Linked DNA regions of Homo sapiens: regions 1 and 2 are each linked to region 3. The links are contacts of gene promoters, found by promoter capture Hi-C in blood cells and fetal thymus (Javierre and others, 2016). All regions are on one chromosome and are shown on one strand. Each heading gives the region's core, a stretch centred on a gene start or on the middle of the fragment in contact. The rest is flanking DNA. Distances are from core to core; before and after follow the strand shown. Region 1 overlaps ARFGAP3 (ARF GTPase activating protein 3). Region 2 overlaps ARFGAP3 (ARF GTPase activating protein 3). Region 3 holds the start of PACSIN2 (protein kinase C and casein kinase substrate in neurons 2).

The links. The method cuts DNA at HindIII sites, captures the fragments that hold promoters and counts their contacts. A CHiCAGO score of 5 or more calls a contact.
Region 1: a contact is called between a fragment that was not itself captured here and the fragment with the promoter of PACSIN2 in region 3, in 1 of 17 cell types (neutrophils). The highest score is 6.6, in neutrophils.
Region 2: a fragment that was not itself captured here is called in contact with the fragment with the promoter of PACSIN2 in region 3 in 1 of 17 cell types (neutrophils); the score reaches 5.9 in neutrophils.

The regions. Positions count from the first base shown.
Region 1 is chr22:42,818,377-42,821,595 of GRCh38, reverse strand. All of the region lies in intron 9 of ARFGAP3 (ARF GTPase activating protein 3), which reads left to right. Among named protein-coding and RNA genes, the nearest start is that of ARFGAP3, 37 kb to the left of the region's middle. The HindIII fragment of the contact is 5,036 bases long and covers 1-3,219 here.
Region 2 is chr22:42,794,888-42,798,277 of GRCh38, reverse strand. ARFGAP3 (ARF GTPase activating protein 3) reads left to right here. Exons shown (of 16, transcript NM_014570.5): 16 at 673-1,776. The coding sequence ends at 690. Among named protein-coding and RNA genes, the nearest start is that of ARFGAP3, 61 kb to the left of the region's middle. The HindIII fragment of the contact is 478 bases long and covers 1,302-1,779 here.
Region 3 is chr22:43,013,804-43,016,982 of GRCh38, reverse strand. It overlaps PACSIN2 (protein kinase C and casein kinase substrate in neurons 2), which reads left to right and starts at 1,834. Exons shown (of 11, transcript NM_001184970.3): 1 at 1,834-1,962. RefSeq lists enhancers at 1,347-1,546, 1,529-2,232 and silencers at 1,667-1,856, 1,867-1,916, 2,037-2,106. The HindIII fragment of the contact is 24,608 bases long and covers 1-3,179 here.

The DNA.
Region 1 (3,219 bases), core at 413-2,912, 200 kb after region 3:
CATACAATGGACTATTACTCAGCCACAAAAAGGAATGTAGTCCTGATATTGGCCACAACATGGATAAACCTTGAAAAGTTTATGCTAAGAAAGAAGCCAGTCATAAAAGATCACATGATATGATTCTGTCTATATGCAATGTCCAGAATAGGCAAATCCGTAGAGACAGAAAGCAACTTACTGGTTGCCAGGGCCTGGGGTGAGGAGAGAATGGAGAGTGGCTGCTAATGGTCCAGGCCTGCTTTTTGGACTGCTGAAAGTGTTCTGGAGTTAGTGGTGATGATGGCACAGCTTTGTGAATGTGCTGAAACCACTGAATCATGCACTTTAACAGGGTGAGTTTTACGGTATGTGAATTATATCTGCATAATGAAAAAAGTATTTATAATCTGAAGCCCTGTTGGACTCTGTGACTAAATTCTAAATACATGATGGAAGACTATGGCTCTGGTCGTGTCTCCAGAGGTTCTGAGCCTGGATCTTGGAGAGGGAGAAGGAAGAGTTTCAGAGAATGAAGAAGGTGGAATGATCGTGTGTGTCGGGGGCCTGCCTGAAGTGGAGGAGTTGGAACGATAATGTGGAGCACCTTAAAGTCAGGCTGTGGTTGTCCACTTACCCAAGAGAAACAGCTCCTTCAGCAGTGCTGTCATGAAGGGGCGTCTCGGGAGAATGAGTTCGGTAGTGATACCCAGGCCAGGAAGAGGGGAGGAGACTGGAAGCCAGGAGGCCAGTGAAGAGATCGGTTTTCCGTAGACTTTTGTAAGGCTCTTGAGAGGTTTTCATTTGTGTTGAAATCAGAAGAGAAAGATGGCCTTCTGGAAACCGTGACTGTACCAAAGATCAGGAGAGAAGGGCGGAGGGTGCATGCTACACAGAAAGGAAAAGTAACCTGGATCCCTATTTTTTATGTGTGTGTTTTTTAATGGTGTTTTCTCTTACTTTCATGTGTATTTTATCTGTTTTAGCTTGAGTTACTATAGACTGTATGATGAAGAAAATAACACCTATTTTATGAGGTGGTTTTAAGGATTAGTTTAATAGCTTAAATGCTCATTGAAGTGCATCAAACAGTACCTGGCACATAGTAGGTGCTCAGTAAATGCAACTACTTTTCGTACTGTCTTACTGTTCATACTGACGGTTCGCTAAGATGGAGTTTATAAGGTAAACCCAAATAATTTGAAGTTGATAGTTGTTTCTCCTTGTCATTTAATTCACAGAACATAGGGGGCAGCACTGAACTGTATTTAGGTCGAATATGGTTTGAAATGCTTTGTGTACAAAAATTTACGTTGACTTGTCACAGACTTTAATTTCTCTTACTAAGCTAAGTTTTTGACCCTGGCAAAGGGAAAGGTTAGATTTGAGTGTTTCGATGGCTTCTCTTGGTATTTGGGAGTAGGCTCTGTCCAGATTACTCATGCTTGAGGTTTTCCCAGAGCGTGTGTAAAATCGGGCCCTGATCAGCTTCCTTCCTGCAAGTAAGCTGGATGGAGAAGCTGCAGGTAAGCTGGATGGAGTGAAGTCTGGTTGTTACTTCTAATATTAACATGCTAATCTTCCTGAAAACAGGAAGCAACAACCAGACTTCACTTGTATCTTTCATTAGGAGTGTTTAATACATCACAAAAACAAAGATGCAGATCGGAAGATTTATGAATTTGATTTGAGAAGCCAGTTTGGCAACTTTCATGGCCTTGTTCAGAACAACCACACCACTGTGCCTTAATGACCACCACTGCCACTCAAACCCGTAGAAAGTACAGGTGTTTTATCCTTAATACATGAGTGTTATGTTGCAAGTTAGTTTGTTTAATGGCTGTAAATAAAGTTATTTCGGCTCAGTAAACTGTCAGAACAGTGTTGTTCTTGTACTGTCAGAGTGTGAAACTAAACAGCCCATGCAGCATCCTGGTCTCCTTCTAGCAGTTTCCCAGCCCGTCCTCAGAGGCTCTCTGTGTGCCCACTTGGTAGGAAGGAAGGAAGAGGCAGAGCTGCCTTGAGCTGCTCCGCTTGTTTGATCTGTGTCCTGCAGTCCTCCCTTGAGCCAGTACCCGTAAGCACTCCTGAAGTTCTGAGAAACGCGGTGTTCTGACTTCTTAACTGTTGGTGCTTCCAGAGAGATGTTCTCGTAAGCATCAAAGTGCATGCTTTTAGTGAGTGACCCAGTCCATGTCAGATTACCTAGGAAGGAAAACTTTTCCATCTCTTATCTTTCTAATAGAACCTTTTCATCCCCATGCATCTTCTCCAGAAGAATCTGTTGCTGTAATTATATGTATTCATGATTTTAAACAGAGCTATTGTTTTCCTCCAAAAGAAAAAGTAGTATTTATTTGTTAAGGAATAAAATAGCCATAACCTGTTCTGTAGGAAGAGTAAGGAAAACAAACTGCCATGTGAAAACCAAAGAAATCTTGCTTGACTCATTAAAGAAAAGAAACAGCAAAAGCAAGATTACTTTTTCCTAATAAGAAATTCTGCACCGGGCGCGGTGGCTCATGCCTGTAATCCCAGGACTCTTTGAGGCAGAGGCAGGCAGATCGCCTGAGGTCAGGAGTTCGAGACCAGCCTGGCCAACATGGTGAAACCTCGTCTCTACTAAAAATAGAAAAATTAGCTGGATATGGTGGCAGGTGCCTGTAATCCCAGCTACTCGGGAGGCTGAGGCAGGAGAATTGCTTGAACCTCGTGGGTGGAGGTTGCAGTGAGCCAAGATTGCACCACTGCACTCCAGCCTGGGCGACAGAGCAAGACTCCATTTCAAAAAACAGAAAGAAATTCTGTTGTCTTTCCCTATTACTATGCAGAAATTTATTTATATTACTAGGAATTTATACAATGCCTCTTTTGCCAGGAATTCATGGTATTTTACATGTTTTTATAAAGTGGATGATAACTTAGAAATCCTTGTAAGTTAGATAGATCATTTTTCAGGGCCCTGAAATGTTGTGCTGTCTCACTAAAATATGATGCAAACTGCTATTCTTGCTATATAGGCATAGTTTTCTTTATGAAAAATTAAGTCATTATTGCATTTTTAGAAATCTGAGAGCAAGGACAATGTTTTGTACACCTTTTTACCCCTTTGGTGTCCTGCTTGTAGCAGATATTTGATTTTAAATAGAAGAGTGGTATTTGACTGACTAGTAGTGCTAAAGAGTCTATTAGCTGATGAGTCACTATCCCATTTTAAATGCTCTCAGAAGCCTGATTGCA
Region 2 (3,390 bases), core at 291-2,790, 220 kb after region 3:
TGCACCCATTCCGGAGAGTTCCCTCAGCCCCAGGACTCTGGATGTAGCCGTTTTCATGCTGTGAATAGCACAGTCTTCCCTTTCATGTGGCACTGAAGTTAAAATGCATAGAGCTCTTTCATGTCCCTTAGGTCAGCTAAGCCCACATCAGTGTCCAAATAGGTAACATCCCTATTTTATAGATGGTCATCCCCATTTTAGAGATGGCTCCCTTTTATATCCCCATTTTACAGGTGAAGGAATTGAGGCACAGAAGGTTAGGTCACTTCTGCAAGATGACCAGCTGAACCAAAATTTCAGGGCTTCAAACACCAAATGTGTTCCTTTGTCTTCCGTTTCCCACTTGCTTCCCAGAGGGCTCAGCAAGTTGCCTCTGGCCCACTGAGCATCCTCCCGCCCACTTTGCTCCCTGCCTCCTGATCCCAGGACTGTGGCCGTGGATGCCAGAGGCAGGATGTGAATCCTGTTGGGTTCTGAAGCCCACACCTACCCTCAGCCTTGAAGCTGCAGCAATGGCTGCTTCCAGATGAGCACACCCTCGGGGTGCAGCGTCCATGTCACATGCCTGACATGGGCTGCAGTGTCAATTTGGGTGATGCTGAATATTCAGGGCGTGGGAGTCAGGGATCGCTGCTGAATGGTCGTGAACTTCCATTTTGGTTCTCTCTTCAGGATCGCTACGGTTCTTAATACTGAAGTCATGATGTGTATTTCCTGGAGAAATTCCTCTTTAAATGAACAAGTAACCACATCTCAGGCGGCAGTGAAGTCCAGATAGTTTTGCAGATTGTTTTGCTACTTTTTCATATGGTATATGTTTCTGATTTTTAATATTTCTTTTGAGAAATTCTGAGTTCTGATGTAGGAGCTTTCCTGTGATTTCTGTTTCACGTTCCTTCCTGTCACACCCTCCTTTGGCGTCTCTGTGTATATCCTTGCTTTATTTTCTTGGAACCTTTGATTTCAACACTGAGGGCCTGGAGACCTCGGCTCCTCCTGCTCCTGAACCAGGAGGCTTCATGTGGGGGAGGAGGAGAGGTCTCCATGTGACACATGGGCTCAGGGCTGCCAGAATCAGCGGATGCTGGATGGGCCTGCAGAAACAACACTCACCACACACACTTCCTTCAAAAGACCAAAAGTGACTGGTGTCTCGTGTGACAGATTGCTTCATTTATGTTTCTACATAGTAAGGTGACTGCCAAATAATATTTGAAGTCATCTGTCTCTTTGTAAATTATTTTATATGACCTATAAATTTAAAAATGTTTTTCAGTGAGTGCTTTTAACAAACTTAAGCTTCTGCCCTGCCAAGGGAATTAATGTTATCTTGTGAAAGGTGTTGCTGTTTGAATTGATGAGAAATGGAAGATGAGAACTCCCTAAGAGTTCTCATAATAAATCATCTCATCACAAATCAATACGGTATACAGAGTTAAAGTGGAATGAGGTAAGAAGATACAGCTACAGAAAATAGTTGCGTGTATGGGAGAACAGTCATTGTAATTGGGTAGTTTTGTTAATAAATATTTTTAAATCTTGCTTTTCAGAAATTACCGAATGTGTATAAACAAATAAAGAAAAATAATTTAGCTGTGTTTTAGACAGCATTAGAATATATTGTTCAGCACAGTAAAATATATTTGAAATTTGATAAGCCAAAAATGTGGTTTTGAATGAATATTTTGTGAATCTTTCTTAAAAGCTCAAATTTGTAGACTTCTAAATAGAATAAACACTTGCAGCAGATGGCATTGCCTACATTTTTCCCTGAAAGCTTTCGTAATAAGTCATCGTAAGTCGAGGTTTTTGGTGTGACATTGATGAACGTTTGAATTGTGGTGACTGTAGGTGGACGTGGATTTAGCGTGCGTGCGGGGCCTGCTGTGCAGTTGTGATGAATTTGGGATGTTGTTTGTAGCACAGGAGCAAGGCGGGGTGTCCCGGTTGAAAATGGGGATGTTGGGCCAGGTGAGGCGGCTCACACCTGTAATCCTAGCACCTTAGGAGGCTGGGGCGGGAGGATTGCCTGAGCCCAGGAGTTTGAAACCAGGCTGGACAACACAGCAAGACCCCGCCTCTACCAAAAAAGAAAAAATTCAGCCGGGTGCAGTGGCATGTGCCTGTAATTCCAGCTACTCAGGAAGCTGCAGCAGGAGGATCCCTTGAGCCCAGGAGGTCAAGGCTGCAATGAGCTACGACCTGGACACTGCACTGCAGCCTGGATGACAGAGCAAGACCCTGTCTCAAAAGAAAAAAAAAAAAGAGGAAGGGAGGGGATTGACTCCCCACTCCCAGAGCCTTAGCTGAAGGTGCCTGTCATGTGCCTTCCATGCCCCTCCCCACTGCCCCTCCCCTTCCCCTCGGTCTCCCCCCTGCCCCTCAGTCTCCCCCCAGCCCCTCTCCACTGCCCCTCGGTTTCCCCCCTGCCCCTCAGGCTCCTCATCCCCCTTCCCCCCGCCCCTCAGTCTCCCCACCTGCCTCTCGATCTCCCCTACCCCGTCTCTTAGTCCTCCCCTTTTCCCCTCAGTCCTCCCATCTTTGACACTCAGTGTCCTCAGGGTCTCAGAATCAGGAATCTGAGATAGATAGAGACATTTGAGCATTCCTTAAAATGCTATTAAGATGGCAAAATGGAAACTGGAGAACTCGGCAGATACCTTCCAGAGAGCTAGGAAACCCATTTCATCTACTACCGGTGTCTTTAAATAGAGGTGAAGACTGACAGATACGTTGGAAGCACCAGACATTTTGGGAGTCGTCTTTCAGCAAATTGGCTTCACAGGCGGACCACTGAAGAGTGTATGCAGAGGCTGGTCCCTGTGGGGGCCGGAGCAGACGGGTTATTGTCGCAGGTAGGAAGTCCCAGGTGTACCATCCAAGCTGGCAGGACTTGAGCTGGCTTGCCCTTAACCGCACTGTCCTTGCCACACCAGCCCTCCCCTCCTGCTTGTCACAGATGGCATCCTCCCTTCCAGGCCTCTGCGCAAGAACAAGGAGAGGAGAAAGGGCTGACTCCCAGCGAGGGACTTGTGCCTTTTTCTCCCCAGCCAGAACTGCGTCCCAGGCCCCCCTAGTTGCAAGGGAGTGGCAACGGGGTGTGTTTTCAGCAGGTCCCATTGCTGCCTTGAACAAAATCAGAATCTGTTGGTGAGGAAAGAGGGGGACGGGAGTGGGACTGGCAGCTTGGGGGAGGGACAACTTACTTCAGGACTACTAGGGGAACAGAGAACCGGAGGGGAGCAGAGAAGGCAGAGCCACCAGCAGAGGGGGTCCTGCGGCTGGGCCTGGACAGGCAGTATGGAAGTGAGTGTCCGAGGTGAGGAGTGTGGCCGTGCAGAGGCCCCGGGGTGGGCGGTGGCAGAGGGAGCAAAGGACAGGAGCAGTGGC
Region 3 (3,179 bases), core at 585-3,084:
AGAGACAGGGTTTCACCATGTTAGCCAGGATGGTCTTGATCTCCTGACCTCGTGATCCGCCCGTCTCGGCCTCCCAAAGTGCTAGGATTACAGGCGTGAGCCACAGCGCCCGACAAGGCTCTATATTTTTATAGGGCATGGAATTGCGATGTAAGCGGAACTTACCCAGATATGAAAGTGCTGAGAGCTGATGGCTGAGTTCTATCTATACAAATGGTCCACAGGTATTGTGGGTGGCAAAGAGGTCCCTGTTGGCTCAGTCCTGGAGAATGAGGAGAGACTTCTTGGCAGTGGTTTGTCCTGGCACTGTGTGTTGGTTTTTTTTTTTTTTTTTTGAGATGGAGTCTCGCACTGTCGCCAGGGCTGGAGTACAGTGGCGTGATCTTGGCTCACTGCAACCTCCGCCTCCCAGGTTCAAGTGATTCTCCTGCCTCAGACTCCCAAGTAGCTGGGATTACAGGTGCATGCCACCACACCCAGCTAATTTTTTGTATTTTTAGCAGAGACAGGCTTTCACTGTGTTGGCCAGGCTGGTCTCAAACTCCTGACCTTGTGATCTGCCCGCCTCGGCCTCCCAGAGTACTGGGATTCCAGGCGTGAGCCACCGTGCCTAGCCGGTTCTTTTGTTTCTTTCTCAATTATTGTCATAAGGACAATGCCACAGAGCAGTCTAGAAAGTAAACAACCACTAGATTTCTTTGTGGACTCTTTTCTCATACCTATCTATATGTAGCAGCAATTCTACAGTTTCTACCATTTTGTATCTAGCTTTTTCTTTTATTATTATTTTCTTTTATTTTACTTTTTAGAGAACTGGGTCTTGCTATGTGGCCCAGGTTGGCCTCAAACTCCTGGGCTGAAGCGATTCTCCTGCCTCGGCGTCCCAAGAAGCTGGGATTCCAGGTGCATGTCACCATGCCTGGCTCTATCTGGCTTTTTCTTTTAACGTTTTAGTTTAAGCATTTTCCCATAGTGCTACACAGTCATCATTATTATTCTCAAGGGTTGGGCTGACCTGGGTTTCTAATCCTGGCTCTGCCATTTACTCTCTTTACTCCACATCACCCCCAGCAAGTTACCTGGCTCACCCCTCACCTGGGGTTCCTCTCACCATCCTCTCCACCTGGATGACATGAAGCAGTGCTTGGACAGCGCGTAGGACAGTGCTCAGGAAGTGCTCTCCATTTTCCTTCAAGAGTATTTCCCTCTGCAGAACGGGGCTAATACCCTATCATGCAAGGTGATTGTGAGAATTGGAAAGAATGCGTGTGCATTGCCTGGTGCCTTGCCATCCAAATATATTTTATTAGAGAGAGCAGCAACATACGCCCCCCCAACCCCCCGTTTAAACTAAGCGGGTCCACGTGGAATGACGCTTTTGGCGCAAGTCGGAGGAGCTCCTAACGACATTAGCTTCTTTGAGTCCCTTGGGAGAGGAAACTTTCTGAAAGACTGTAGGATTACCTTCCCTGAACTTCCGGTCAGGTGCGGTGCTGCCCTGCCGCGCCCTCTTACCCCTGGATGCCGACGAAACCGCAAAACTCCAGCCCCGGGAAGCGCGTCTCAAGGACCACCACCAGCGAGCGGCTTTGGGAGAGTAATCTGCGCCACCCTCGCAGCCCATTAAATAGGCACTCCCCGTTTGATTGACAGGAGAAGTCACCAATGCGCGTCCTGGGGCTTTCCCTCGTCCTCACGCGGGGTGAGCCGCCTCTCTACTCATCTGGCCCAATCGGGGGCGCCGGGGAGGCTGTGGGGCGGGGCTCGGTGTCCGGTAGCCAATGGACAGAGCCCAGCGGGAGCGGCGGGGGCGGTGCGGTCGCGGCTGGCGGCAGAAGCGGCCGCAGGGGTCTGGGCAGGGCTGGGCAGTGCTGCCGGAGCAAAAGCGGTAGCGGGAGCCCGGCCGGAGCTGGGTCTGGAGACGCCGTGGCAGCCTGAACGGAGTGTGCGACGGATTGGGAGGTGAGTGGCCGCCGAGGTCAGGGGTCGCCGCGACGGTTGGGGCGCCGCGGGCGGGACGCGGGGGCGCTGGTCCGCGGCCGGGCCCGCGCCCCGTCAGGGCCGCCGCGCCGAGCTCCGCGCCCTGAGGGAAGCGGGTCGGGCCGCGCGGAACTTCCTGTCTCTGTGGGAGGGGGCGAGTGCTCGGGGCCCCGGGGGGCGCCTGGAGAAGACATCTTGGGGAGGACGAGGGCGAGTGGGGTCGGCTCGGGGAAGGGGCGGGGGCCCATGGGGGCGGCGCTGTGGGAGCGGGGCAGTTTTCCGGGGTCCGGGGCCTGCTGGAGAGGGAAGTGCAGGAGCAGGGCCGTCGGGGGTTAAGAGCTGCTAATGAGTGGGGGAGGTGTAGACAGCTGCAGAAGGGGGAGCTGGGGCGACTTTTGGAGGGACGCGATTTAGGAGAAAGCTGGGAATCCGAGACGTGCAGAGGTTAGGCGAGGGTGCCGGAGCAACGCTGGAGGGAAGGCGTGGCTGGGACGCGCCGGTGAGAGGGCAGGGCTTAGTCCTGGGGTGGCCTGGGGGGCGACGCAGGACACACGCGGGTGCGCTGATTTCGGGCGCTTTGATGAGCGGCCTCCATTTCCTTCCTTCCCACCCTCCGTGTCCCGGGGGGGGGGGGGTGGTGTGTGTGTGTCTGTGTGTGTGTGTGTGTGTGTGTGTGTGTGTAGGGCGGGGGGAGCAAAGCCCTTACCGCAGCACGTCCTAGGGCTGGGGCCAAGCAGGAGAGGCCGGGGAGGTTTGCCCTTGTGACCCTCCTCAGAGTTTCCCCAGACTCACTGAATCAGAAATCCGAACTCCTTACTCCTCTAGGGCTTTCAAGCCTGGCCAGGCATCCTGAGAGGTCCGCAATTGGAGAGGTAGTGATTGCTGCTGCTGTTGAATTTCATTGATTCATTGGGTTTCGGCTCCATCAGAGAAGGTCGATTTTCTTTTCAGAAGGAGTTGGTTGGTCAGGGGAGCAAGCTGTGCTATTGCTTTGGGGCCCACACGGCTGCAGCCTTTGACGTATAACAGGACCTGGGGATGCCACTCTTGGCTTGGGTGCCTGAGGGAAGGTGGCCTTTGGCTGGGTGTGTGCACCATTCCTGGATCCTGTCTTCTCTTTTTCCCTCCGCCTGTCCGGTGTTTTTGTGGTTAAGGGGGTAGGCTGCTCAGAGTCTCCAGGGCTACTTGGTACACTGTTT